2 separate regions of the Homo sapiens genome follow, and region 1 is linked to region 2. Evidence: promoter capture Hi-C in 16 types of primary human blood cells and fetal thymus (Javierre and others, 2016). All regions are on one chromosome and are shown on one strand. The core of a region is centred on a gene start or on the middle of the fragment in contact, and the rest is flanking DNA. Distances in the headings are between cores, read along the strand shown.

Region 1 (7,160 bases), core at 1,535-4,034, 1.4 Mb after region 2:
ACAAACATTTTTGGGGAAACAGGGTCTCACTCTGACGCCCAGGCTGGAGTGCAGTGGCGTGATCATAGCTTGCTGTAGCCTCGAACTCCTGGGCTCAAGCAATCCTCTCAGCTCAGCCTCCTGAGTAGCTGGGACTACAGGTACACACCACCACACCTGGCTTTATTTTATTTTATTTTATTTTATTTATTTATTTTTTTTAGTAGAGACGAGATCTCACTATGTCGCCCAGGCCGATCTTGAACTCCTGGGCTCAAGTGATCCTCCTACCTCAGCCTCCCAAAGTGCTGAGATGACAGGTATAAGCCAACAAGCCCAGACAAAAAGCAAACATATTAAATAGGTAAATTTTACCATATGTTAGAGGGTGATACAGAAATAAGTAGAACAGAGTAAAAAATCTCAAGATTAAAACTTTAAACTGAGGGGAGGGATCAAGCAAGACATCGTTGAAAAATTACAGTTCAGCAAGGAATGGAATAATATTTTTTTAAAAAATAGCCATGCAGGTATGTGGGGAGAAAATATTCCAGGCAGAGAGAACAGCCTGTGCAAAGGTCCTGAGGTAGGATTAAGACTAACATGTTCAAGAAACAGCAAGTAGGCCACTGTGGCTAAGGAAGAGTGAGCAATGGAGGAGACTAGTCAAAGATGAAGTCAGAATGGTGCTCAAGGACAGATCACAGAGGACCAATCAGACCACTGTAAGGGCATTTATTCTGAATGAGATAAGGAATTATTGCAGGGCTTTGAGTAGAGGAGTGACATGACGGGACCTAATTCCTTAAAGAACCGCTCTTCCTGCTGCATGAAGAATAGACTGAAGGGGGCAAGGGTAGAACCAGGAAGCCTTGATAAGAGGCTGTTAAAGTTATCAAGGTAAGAGATAATGGTGGCTTGGACCCAGTGCAGCAGCAATGGGGGTGGTAGAAGGTGATTGGATTCTGGATGTATTTGGAAGATAGACCTGGCCAGGCTACCTTCTGACTGGGTGTGGGATGTGAAATAGAAGAATCAAGAATGACTCCAAGGCCAGGCATGGTGGCTCACACCTATAATCCCAGGACTTTGGGAGGCCGAGGTGGGTGGATCACTTGAGGTCAGAAGTTCGATACCAGCCTCGCCAACATGGCAAAACCCTGTCTCTACGAAGCATACAAAAATTAGCCGGGCTTGGTGGCACACCCCTGTAATCCCAACTACTAGGGAGGCTGAGACAGGAGAATTGCTTGAATCCAGGGAGCGGAGGTTGCAGTGAGCCGTGATTGCACCACTGCACTCCAGCCTGAGCAACAGAGCGAGATTATGTCTCAATAAAAAGAATGACTCCTATGTTTTGGGCTACAGGAAGGTTGGAGCTACTGCCATCCAACAATGTCTGAAGCAGATTTGTGGGGAGGAGACCAGGAGTTCAGTGGGAACTTGCTGAATCTGACCTTCAAGTAGAACTGTTCAGTAGGCCGTTGTACATACAAGTCTAGAAAACATTTGAGAGCTCCAGGAGTTGCCAACATATACATGGTATTTAAAGACTTGAAGCTGGATGAGGTCAACAATGGACTGAGATGGAGAAATGAAGAGGAACAAGAACTGAGTCTTAGAGCCTTTCAAACTTGACAAGTCTGAAGATGAAGAGGAATCAGCAAAAGACACTGGAAAATAGCCACCAGGGTGTTGGAGGAAAATCCCATACAATTCTAATTTCAGTGGGCACACAGGACAGAACATTCTATTCTCGAATCTTCTTTGGTTCCCTGAACCAATGTAAACAAATTCCATACTTCTGAGTGCTTTTTTCTTTATACCTGATGCCCAACCATTTCAAGCCCTCTCCCTGGGTTTCCTGTATAGCTCTGGTAACAGCCAGAGCCACAGCCGCGACATCATGAAAAGCTCAGATGGGCAGCCTCTTTCCTGCTTTGATACATCCCATGTCCAGAGGAAGAACTGTGGATCTAAACAGAACCCACAGATGGTGGCCTACCTAACACTATCAAAACACAGAAAGAATGAATGCTCAAACAAGCTCCCCGTCAGGGTGTTGTGCTGCTTTCAGGAGCCCAGCAGCATGTAGAAGATGATGTGCAGAACTCGAGGAAGAGGATAGATAGACTTGAGGACCCAGAGCATCCTACAACTTGAGACATGTAGCCCACTACCTCTATGAGGATCCTGCCCTATATCCTTGTGGACCATGTGCTGAAGTTGCCCTTAGGAGGAAGCAATGTCTAGGAATTAACTTCTGAGGTTCTGAGAACACAGAAATATCTTCAAAGCTTCATCTTTACAATTGGATTTACATACTGACTCATGTTTGAAATTCTGCCATTATCAGAGTTTAATCACTTGATTTTAAAATGTTTCTAATCAACTCTGCTGTTCCTTATTCTCAGCTCAAAATGGGAACATAGAGTTTGATAGAGAGGAACCGGGAGAAGAGAGAAGGCATGGGATGATGAGGAGGGAGAAAGTCCCCTCCACTTCTGCCTCACCTCCCAGGAAGGAAACTAGTCCATAACAGGGAGGCAGGAAATGTAACCTCCCACCTGGAGTTTCCCCTGTTGACAGATGGGGGAGGAAGTCATGGGGATGAGTCAGAAACTCTTTGAGGGAGGCTTTGCTTGAGAGCTGCCTATGCAAATTGTCTTGGGCTTCCTTTTCTGCCACAGAGGAAACAGACTAAACCTAAAGGCTTTGCTGGTACACAGAAGCCAAAAGGAGATCAAGTGTGACTATTCCGAGGTCAGGTTTCTCGCTCGATGCCTGAAGGAGGTTCAACACCCCCTCCTTCCTCTGCCTACTCCTTCTGGCCTTCTGCCCTCCACCCAATTCTCTGTCTCACCCACAAATCCTACCCAATGCAGAAAAGTACTCCATACTGTGGTTCTTCATTTCTCTTTATTTCATAACCATATTTCTCATCTCTCTTCCCTGGGACTTCCTCAAATGTCCTTCTTTTGAAGGAGAGAGATGAGGAGGAGGCAAGAGGCATACCTAGGGAATTCCCTGGAGTTCAACTGAAACTTGTTGCAGTTCTGTTTCTAAGTCACCATTTCCCTGAGGGCAGCACTTTCAGAACCTACTGGCAACTGAAGTCTAGATCCCCACTCTGAAGCTCAGAGCCTCCCTTTGGCGGGCCTTGGGAAAGGAGGACAGGCACAGACAGCTTACACCCAGCATCTGGCTCCTGGCTGTGAGCTTGGATCTCTCCCTGCATCTGTTCCCTCGGTGCCTAATTCCAGCCCTGTGGGTAGATTTGGTCTTCAATAGCTGTCTGGTGCTTCAAGCTTTGTTTGTCTAGCTAGAAGCTTCAATTCTTGGTTTTTTGTTTTTTTTTTTTACTTCAAATAACCAGGTACTCCATAATACTTGGAGTGTTCATCTGAAAACTCAAAATGAGTCACTTCGATTTGAAACAGAGATACAGGATTAGCATAATAGAGTGAAAAGGCATGAGACTGGGTGCAAATCCCAAAACCTGACTTCTGGCCCAATCTTCATTATTGTATAAACTTGAACAAGTTGCTAAAGCTCTCTGTATCTGAGTTTGCCCCATCTCCTCCAGGATGAAGCAGGGCAGGCCTTGAATGAGGACAGGGGCCCTGAGAGCTGGAGCTGGGAGGTGTAGATGCTCATGGCAGCCAGTAGAGCCAAGAGGCAGAGGGCAAACCAGGTTCTTAGAGAACACAAAAGGCCCAGACCAAGGATACCAAATCTCTCACCACAATCAAGAGTAAAAGCCAGGAGATACACTGTTACATTTTATATAGGGTAGTTGGAGAAGGCCTGTGATAAAGGGACATTTGAGGCAAGTCCTGAAGCCAGAGAAATAGAAGCTGGATCAGTTCTTGAATATTTGTTTAATCACCAAGTATGTATTAAACCTCTGACACACACAAATATCTCCAAGTTGCTGGGAATACAATGATGAAAAACATAGACATAGTCCTTGCCCTCATGAAACCTACAATTTGATCATGAAAACAGGCTGCCCCCCACCCATAGTAAAACAATATTGTAATGACAAGTTGTGATAAGAAAAAAGAAAGAAATGAGTAGAGTGCTGAGATAGAAATATACAGGGAAGGACCTATTCTGGATAAGAGGATGTGAGGAACAGCCTCTGTGAGAAGGCCAAGAAAGAGACAGCAATGTAAATCGGGACTAAAGGAGAATCCCATGTGGAGGATAAGGATGTCCAGAAGCCTCCCTATGGCAGGGGACTGCTTAGTAAGTTCAAGGAACAAAAGAGGGCAATGGCATTTTAGGCCAGAGAGGGAGGGAAAGAGTGGTAGAATGTTGAGTTTCTGGGCCAGGCACGGTGGCTCACGCCTAGAATCCCAGCACTCTGGGAGGCTGAAGCAGGTGGATCACCTGAGGTCAGGAGTTTGAGACCAGCCTGCCCAACATGGTGAAACCCTGTCTCTACAAAAAATACAAAAAAAAAAATTAGCCCGGCATGATGTTGGGCGCCTGTAATCCCAGCTATTCAGGAGGCTGAGACAGGAGAATTGCTTGAACCCAGGTGGTGGAGGTTGAAGTGAGCCGAGATTGCACCACTGCACTCCAGCCTGGGCAACAGAGTGAGACTCTGTCTCAAAAAAAAAAAAAAAAAAAAAGATTGTTGAGTTTCTGAGTGGGGAGGGCCTTGTAGGCCATAGTAAGCCATAGTTAAGGAGTTCATATTAATTCTCAGTGCAGTGAAAAACCATCACAGGGTTTTATGCAGCATAGCAATGAGACCTGATTAATGTGTTTAAAACATTTCTCTGACTGTTGCATGAAGTCTAGAATGAAGCAGGGTGGAATGCTGCAGGGAGTCCAATTGGGAGGCTGTTGCATATCACAGGTGAGAGAGGAGGAAGCAGAAGCAAGATCAAGAGCAGATTCAAAGCAAGAGGTACCAAAGGATTGCCACAGATGAGTGGGACTTACCAGGTGACTTACAAGTGAACCATCCTGGCTTCAGTGAATCATCCTGGCTTAAGGTCCAGGATTAGGAAAGACAAGTTTCCTCATCATGAAGTTCATTCAACAAGTATTTAACATGCATCTACCATGTTCCAAGTACTAGGCCGGTCATTGAGGATACAGCAGTAAACGAAACAAACTCCCTACTCTTCTTCTGGGCTCACATTCTAGAGAGGAGAGAGAGATAACACACAAATAAACAGATAACAGTCCCCTAGAAATCAGAGCCTGAAACAAAAGCTCATGGCTTAGACTTTATGAGAGAAGGTGCAATTTAGGGGGAGTAAAAGTGAAGGAAAGTAGGAAGTGAGACAGGAAAGGAAGAATGGCAAATACAAGGGATGTGTTACCAAGATGGCCAGCTTTGCCACAAATACAGCTTGTTTCTCCATCTCCATCTCTTCCAGAGAGGTCAAATAAAATCACTGCATGTCAAAACAATCCACTGGAGGGAGGAAGGGTAAGCAATTAACCCTCGGTCTCTTCCTATCTCCTGCTTTCCATTGATTTGTCTACTGTGCAGGACATTAACTGTATGTATTTCTGGGTTGTGTCACTGGCCCCCAGGGCAGCTGCTGGGGAAGCCAGAGCTTCCCTGGATTCAGTTGAGTCAGACCTCAGTGTTGCAGCTGCTGCAGCTCCTACCAAACATAAGTCTAACCCTCATCTCTGGGGAAAGAAGAAGCAATGTGTAGCGTTAGGGGATGAAGTGATTGATGGTGGTGGCTTTACAGCGTAAGTTGTCACTAAGACCTCTCCAGGATGGAAAATGGGCAAGTCCAGGGGACAGGATGAAGGGGATCAGGGAAGGCCCCTCCAATTAAGTATTAGTTGAGCAAAACCTCAGATGAAATGTGGGCACATCCGACGCAAATATCTAGGGGAAAGCATTCCAGGCAGAGGAGCAAGCACATAGAAAGGCAGTGATTCAGGACTGTGCTCAGCTTGTTTGGGAAAAGCCAGGAGGCCAGTGTGGCCAGGAGAGGTGATGTAGGAAGAGAGCCATAGGAGGAGGGACCAGAAAGATGGAGGAGCCTGGTCATATGGAACCTTGTCAGCCATAGAAATGACACTGGATCCTATTCTGAGAGAAAGGAAAAGCCATTTCAGAGCTGTAATATGACCTGATTGCAATTTTTTTTTTTTTGAGACAGAATTTCACTGTGTTGCCCAGGCTGAAGTGCAGTGGTGTGATCTCAGCTCACTGCAACCTCTGCCTCCTGGGTTCAAGTAATTCTCCTGCCTCAGCCTCCTGAGTAGCTGGAATTACAGGTGGAACAACCATGCCCAGCTAATTTTTGCATTTTTAGTAGAGACGGGTTTTGCCATGTTGGCCAGGCTGGTCTCCAACTCCTGACCTCAGGTGATCAGCCCACCTATGCATCCCAAAGTGCTGGGATTACAGGCATGAGCCATCACACCCAGCCCCTGATTCCAATTTAAAAGGATCGTTCTAGTCCCTGTGATAGGAGACTACAGAAGCAAGGTGGAGCAGGGGGACCCAGGAAGAGATGATGGTGACTTGACCCAGAGGGGGAGCACTGCTCAAAGGGGACAGACCTGGGGTACAAAGGAGAGCCTATAGAACTTGATAATGTCCAGAGCTGAGAAAGAAGAGTCAGTACCTGGCTTAAAAAGTGTCCATGTACTAATGTAGGAAGAAGAAGGTTCGGGAGGATGCACGGAACTGTGAGTTCAGTTTTGCATTTCCTCATTTGAAGTGTCTTTGGGACACCCCAGTGGAGATGTTTGGAGTTTTGGGAGAGATTGAGACTGGAGATACTAATTTGGAAGTTATCTACACATAATCTTCAAACCATGGGGCTAGATGTGATCAGCTGGGGAGTGAGTATAGCTGGAGAAGAGGTCCAAGAACTAAGCTCCAGAATATTCTGATTTTTAAGAGTCAGAAAGACAAAAAAAGACACAGCAAGGGAGACAGAAGGAGAGACTAGAAAGGTAGGAGAACCAGGTGAAAGTGGTAACCTAGAACCCAAGGATTGACTGATCCACCAAGTCATTGCCTCTGAGAACTGAGTAAAAAGAGACTGGAGATTAGATCGGAGCTCCAAGCTAAGGTCTGCAGAGCACCAGCTTACAGGGAGGTGCTGAAGAGTCCCGGCTGCAGTGCGTCAGGGTGAGTGTGCTGGGGGGTTTGGATAAGGTTTCACCAATAAAGTTCTAGGCCA
Region 2 (6,869 bases), core at 3,056-5,555:
TCTGTGTAGAAAGAAGTAGACATGGGAGACTTTTCATTTTGTTCTGTACTAAGAAAAATTCTTCTGCCTTGGGATCCTGTTGATCTATGACCTTACCCCCAACCCTGTGCTCTCTGAAACATGTGCTGTGTCCACTCAGGGTTAAATGGATTAAGGGCGGTGCAAGATGTGCTTTGTTAAACAGATGCTTGAAGGCAGCATGCTCGTTAAGAGTCATCACCACTCCCTAATCTCAAGTACCCAGGGACACAAACACTGCGGAGGGCCGCAGGGTCCTCTGCCTAGGAAAACCAGAGACCTTTGTTCACTTGTTTATCTGCTGACCTTCCCTCCACTATTGTCCTATGACCCTGCCAAATGCCCCTCTGTGAGAAACACCCAAGAATGATCAATTAAAAAAAAAAAAAAAAAAGAATAGACTATAGGCCAGGCATGGTGGCTCACACCTGTAATCCCAGCACTTTGGGATGCCAAGTTGGGTGGATCACTTTAGGTCGGGAGTTCGAGACCGGCCTGGCCAAGATGGCGAGACCCCGTCTCTACTAATATTACAAAGATTAGCTGGGCATGGTGGCTCATGCCTATAATACTTTGGAGGCTGGGGCACAAGAATCACTTGAACCTGGGAGGCAGAGGTTGTAGTGAGCCAAGATCGTGCCACTGCACTCCAGCCTGGGCGACAGAGCAAGACTCTGTCTCAAAAAATAAAATTAAAAAAAAAAAAAGACTAGTATTTTTTAGCATAGACTACTTATTTATATTAAAAATAGAATATTGGTGTGGCAGAGGGGGAAGTTGGGGTCCAGGAGGCGGAGTCTGAGGTCTGCCCACTTCTTGCCCTGCCTTAAAAACAAAAAAACAAACAAAATAGACTAATGTGCAAAACATTTAAATTTTTTTTCCTTTCTTGTTTTAACGTTTTCACATCCAAGCTCAAATGGTGATAATGACTTAAAAGTGAAACTGAAATGGTGAGAGAAGTACGATTAAAAAGGGAACTTTTTCTTTAATATTTATCTGGAAATACCAAATGTAGAAAATGCAGATACATTTTGAAAACTGCTGTAAAAGGCTTATGAATTACTCCCCTTTCCTAAACTAATAATATTTTTAAAATTTAACAATAGTAACATGTTAATAACTAATATTTCATATTAGGAAATATTACAATATTTGAAGAAAGTAGTTTTCATATTCAAACAATCTGAGAATGTAATCTAAATTTAACAGATTTCTAGAGGCAGAAACTTATGTGGGTGAATGTGATTTCAACAAGAATCAGCAGGAATAAAAGTTCTCTGCACAGTAAAATCTCCCTGATTTGGACTGACATTTAGTGAAAAGAATTGGTTGCCTGTTCTTAGAGAAAGAGTGTTCAGTAGAAAGTAGAATAGTCTATGGAAATAGTATACAGTACTATTATTTTTTCATGGTAACCAGATTAACAAAGCCTGGCCTTGTACTGGCCCTGCTTTCATAGGAATAAACAGTATGTAATTAGCTTATTGAACACCTGTCTGCAAGACAAGCATGTCTGTGAATCAGGATTTGAAAGCAATTGGTTATAAATTTTAAAACTGCTTCTGTTTACTATTACTTGCTTAGAAATTTCTTTAGTACAACTATAGACTTTGTTTTGTTTTGTTGGTAGAGATGGGGGTCTGGTTCTGTTGCCCAGGCTGGTCTCAAAGTCCTGGCCTCAAGATATCCTCCCACCTCAACCTCCCAAAGTGCAGAGATTACCGGCATGAGCCACAAAACCTGACTTAGACTTTGTATTCAGAGTCAAAAAAAGTTTATTGGAAAAAAAAAAGTTTATTGAGGTTTATTAGGAATTATACAGTATAACATGCACTGTCTTTCAAGCAGTTATCTATGCTTGGCTCAACAGTAATTTTCTTTTTTTTTGAGTCGGAGTTTTGCTCTTTTGTTTTGGAGATGGAGTTTCACTCTTGTTGCCCAGGCTGGAGTGCAATGGCGCAATCTCGGCTCCCTGCAACCTCCACCTCCCGGGTTCAAGCAATTCTCCTGCCTCAGCCTCCCAAGTAGCTGGGATTACAGGTGCGCACCACCACGCCTGGCTAATTTTTTGTATTTTTAGTAGAGACGGGGGTTTCACCATGGCCAGGCTGGTCTTGAACTTCTGACCTTAGGTGATCCGCCCGCCTCGGCCTCCCAGAGTGCTGGGATTACAGATGTGAGTCACAGCGCCCGGCCTAGGAGTTTTGCTCTTGTTGCTCAGGCTGTAGTGCAATGGCAAGATCTCAGCTCACCACAACCTCCACCTCTCAGGTTCAAGCGATTCTCCTGCCTCAGCCTCCCGAGTAGCTGGGATTACAGGCATGCGCCACCACGCCCAGCTAATTTTGTATTTTTAGTAGAGACGGGGTTCCTCCATGTTGGTCAGGCTGGTCTCGAACTCCTGACCTCAGGTGATCCGCCAGCTTCAGCCTCCCAAAGTGCTGGGATTACAGGCATGAGCCACTGCGCGCGGCCTCAACAGTAATTTTCATAGCTTCTTAACAGAAGAAAGTCAACTTAGTGAGGCTTTACAGAATTTATATTTTATCTTTCAGATACCATATAATCTTTTTTTTTGAGATGGAGTCTTGCTCTGTCGCCCAGGCTGGAGTGCAGTGGCACGATCTCAGCTCACTGCAACCTCCGCCTCCTGGGTTCAAGCAGTTCTCCTGCCTCAGCCTCCGGAGTAGCTGGGACTACAGGCACACGCCACCACGCCAGGCTAATTTTTTGTATTTTAGTAGGGACAGGGTTTTACTGTGTTGCCCAGGCTGGTCTCAAACTCCTGAGCTCAGGCAATCCGCCCGCCTCGGCCTCCCAAAGTGCTGGCATTACAGGCGTGAGCCACTGCGCCTGGCCCCTATATAGTCTTTATAATTATTGTTTAATTCTTTTGAGAAGAACCTATAGATCTTTATAATTATTGTTTCTTTTGAGAAGAACCTTGTTAAGAAAAAAATCACCAAGACTAAGGGAGAACACATATACTCTACAGAGCTTCTATTTTCTTCTTAGAGATCTTCCTGAGAGAGATTAATTCTCTCCATAACTTAATCAACGTAAAAAATATGCATAAAATCATAGCATGACCTGGAAAGAATCCATGCTTTATTCACCAACTAGGCCTGCTTTCCCTGTACTCTCCATTCCACACCTATACTCACCAAATGAAGTTGCAAAAGACGAAAAAGATAAAAATGCAAATACCTAAATGTCTTTTTTTATGTACATTTCCAACTTTTGTGTATTCCAAGAATTTACGATGTAATGTCTATGTTTCTAGCAAAAAAGAACTTTTTCTCTATTTGTAGTTGGTGTCTAGAGCAATTCTAATGTAAAGAAGTTTTGCATTTATTTGGTACTGTTGAGTGGCTGAGCAGCAAGGCTGCTATTTCCACTGAGTGGAGATACACAAAGATGACTTAGGAGTCCCAGTCCTCAGGATCGGAGTATTGGTGGATCACACGTGTTACAAAGCAGAAAGCATTAGGAAAAGCAAATCAGTTACTTTGAGCTTCAGATGCAAATAATTTCCAAATTGTCACTGGCCAAAATGCTTTAAACATTCAGGGTTTTGTCACAATTTCAATATAAAGGGGGGAGGGGGGAGCGGGACCCCACAGCTCTATTCCTTTGTCTTTCAGACTCCAAGAACTCAGACCGTGGTGGTGCAAACTGGTGACTGGTTCAAAAGAAGTTGGAGGGGGCGTGTAGGACAGGAGGCTTTACCACCAGTCCCAGGGTGCGTCAAGGTCTATGGTGTAAAAACCACTACTCAGAATGGCGGGGTTCATGGACTTTTCACCATGGCCAAACCTTCGATTACCTCTGATGAGCCCCAAAGATCAGAGTAGCTGACTAGGCCAGGTCCCCCAGCAGAAGGGCGCGACGGCTGCAACATCAGCGGTTAAATTGTACAGCCTTTCATAGGCCGGTCTAATGCATCCGTACTAAGATTGTTAAGGCTGAGGGTCCCTAGCCTGGGGAAAAACGAAAGGAGGCAGAGGGTAGGGAGACGGGAAAGAAGACAAGGAGGGTGTAGAAAACGGGGAGAGGAGGGGGCGGGACAGCATGGGGAAGGCCTCAGGTTTACTGGAGAGATCGTGGCGTTCCCATAGAAACGTATCCCTCCGCCCATGACCCGCGTGTTAGTCTCTTCAGTTCCTTCCGCGTCGTTTCTTGGCTGTTTCCGCCCAGCTCCTTTGTGCCGCGCAGAACAACGAGATGACGCATGCGCAAAGCGCAGCGGCCGCATATATAAACGCGAACCCGGGCTCTTCCTCGTAGTGCCGCCGGGACTCTTGGCGGGTGAAGGTGTGTGTCAGCTTTTGCGTCACTCGAGCCCTGGGCGCTGCTTGCTAAAGAGCCGAGCACGCGGGTCTGTCATCATGTCGCGTTACGGGCGGTACGGAGGAGGTAAGAAGCTGGAGTCCGGTGAGGGACGTTGGTGTGGGTGTAGTGAGCACTGCGAGGCCGTAGGGTTGTCGCGGAGGTTGGGAGACGGTTATTCCGCGTGCGTAATGGCGGCTTAGGAGCACGCCAGACGAAGCCGGAGGCAGCGGAGGCGGGGTGCTGAAGGGAGACGGGATGGCGGGTGTACATCTCTGCCGAGTTCCGTACTCTTGGGCATTTTTGTGGCCCAATCCAGCCTAAAGCAGGGTTGAGATGACGGTTTTCGCGTTGCCTTTCTCGGAGCTGCCCGCCGGCCCCCCTCCCCCCCCGCCCTCGGCGGCGGCTGCCATTTTGCGCACATTGAGGACCGTGGTGGCGCATTTCCTCAGCGCTTTCCCGCCACTTCAGCGGACAGATCTGGCCGCAGCTGTAAGATCGTGGTTGTGTTTGAGATAGAACGAAATTGGCAGCTGTGAGCTGCATGTTCTCGTCAAACAATCGGTTAAATTGCGGAATGGGAATGGGGACGTAATCTGCGACTGGCGGCTGGGTTTTTTTTAGTTATTTCCAGCGCGGTTTATGGCTCTGGGGCGGGGAGCTGGAGTCTTGGGCGAGCCTGTGCCTGGGACGTTTGCCGCGGAGGACGAGAGCCGGCGCAGCCCTGCTCTCCTGGCCCGGCCCCTACCGAGGCCCTCCCGCCGCCGACGCCGCTGCCGCTGCGGGCCCGCGCGCTCCCGGTGCGCCCGGGGCTGCCGGGACTCATGGGTGGGGCCGGGCCAGGTTCCGCCCCACGCCTCGGTGTATCCTACCACGCGTTTCTGCTTGTGTTCGGGAGGGTCACCCCGCATTATTTAGAACGTTAAGAATTTTGTCAAAAGTCTAGTTTCTCAGGGATTTGCGGACTTTCACCAGTTTTACGACTAAGTTTTGTCTTGGATAGAGGGCATTAAATGTGCTTTACCCAATCTTGAGGATGGCCCGTTTTAAGGCAAATAAGTAATTGAAACTTGGGCCAGATTTTGCGTAACGTGCATTCTTCTATTTGCGTTTTTAAACAGAAACCAAGGTGTATGTTGGTAACCTGGGAACTGGCGCTGGCAAAGGAGAGTTAGAAAGGGCTTTCAGTTATTATGGTCCTTTAAGAACTGTATGGATTGCGAGAAATCCTCCAGGATTTGCCTTTGTGGAATTCGAAGATCCTAGAGATGCAGAAGATGCAGTACGAGGACTGGATGGAAAGTAAGTAAGATGTTATGAATCTTCTGTTCATTAAAATATACTGTGGCTAGATAATGAACTTAGTGCTAAATTTGGATTCTGAAGTCTGGAAGAGACCTTAAATAGCTGGTCATAGTGTTAAATGCTAAAGGCACACGAAGGTTAAAGAAGATAGCGGAGATGGAGTTAGGGCTTGGTAAAGACCGCCAAAGTTTGTTGGGGGGGAAGGAGTGGTTGGAAAGAGTGAGTGGTTGGAAAGAGTTCTTTTTAAATCTATAAGTCCTGAATATATTTTTAACTTTAGAATTTTGTTAATTTGCTTTTATTAGGGTGATTTGTGGCTCCCGAGTGAGGGTTGAACTATCGACAGGCATGCCTCGGAGATCACGTTTTGATAGACCACCTGCCCGACGTCCCTTTGATCCAAATGATAGATGCTATGAGTGTGGCGAAAAGGGACATTATGCTTATGATTGTCATCGTTACAGCCGGCGAAGAAGAAGCAGGTATTTATTTTAATAAAGGAATGGTTGGTATTCTAGTTAATCAAGTAATTCTTTTATTAGCAAGGCAGAAACTAGTGTTTTTCTATAAACTTGAATGTTAATTGTACAGGTGTATTTTACAATTTTTGTTTAATTAAAAAAATGTTACTATATTAATAATCAACCTGGTCAAAACCTTTCAGGTTTCTTCGTTTGAGTCAGTCGCCTTGATTCAGAATGTCACGAGCCTTATGATATCATGCTGAGGCGCCTTGCAAATCCGACAATTAAGATCCTCCTAGACCTTGAGGTGATCAGCATAAGAGGCCAGATCCCCTCGAGTCATCTACACCTAGCTTCACCTTATTCTTTAAAGGGCAGAAAATTTGAGACGGTGATCGCCGTAACAGTAAATTTGGCTTACAATTGGGGCCCCCCTCCGGTTTAGAAAGAGGAACACCAGATTGACCACATTCCCAACTAGAAAAATCTTCTTGCGTCAATCAAGCCTCACCTGGCTCATTTGGCTGTCAGTTTGATCGTCGTTAGATTGAAGAAAACATCTAGATGCAGCGATCGGCTATAGATACTTCTAGATCGTCTAGATCTACTAGACCATGGGCCAAAGAGGGTCGACCTGCAAACTTGCAAGGTTTATTTTAAATACACATTACAGTGTTTTATATTATGTAATGCTAAGTTGTAATTCAGCTTTTAACAAATCTTTTTTTAGGTAGTAAAAAAAAAAATACT

The links. The method cuts DNA at HindIII sites, captures the fragments that hold promoters and counts their contacts. A CHiCAGO score of 5 or more calls a contact.
Region 1: a contact is called between a fragment that was not itself captured here and the fragment with the promoter of SRSF7 in region 2, in 1 of 17 cell types (activated CD4 T cells). The highest score is 5.1, in activated CD4 T cells.

What each region holds. Positions count from the first base shown.
Region 1 is chr2:37,386,057-37,393,216 of GRCh38, reverse strand. No RefSeq gene overlaps it. Among named protein-coding and RNA genes, the nearest start is that of QPCT, 45 kb to the right of the region's middle. RefSeq lists an enhancer at 2,924-3,113. The HindIII fragment of the contact is 1,011 bases long and covers 2,279-3,289 here.
Region 2 is chr2:38,748,797-38,755,665 of GRCh38, reverse strand. It overlaps SRSF7 (serine and arginine rich splicing factor 7), which reads left to right and starts at 4,305. Exons shown (of 8, transcript NM_001031684.3): 1 at 4,305-4,437; 2 at 5,472-5,652; 3 at 5,961-6,137. The coding sequence starts at 4,410. RefSeq lists enhancers at 1-457, 3,801-3,860 and silencers at 4,721-4,820, 5,031-5,220. The HindIII fragment of the contact is 14,475 bases long and covers 1-6,869 here.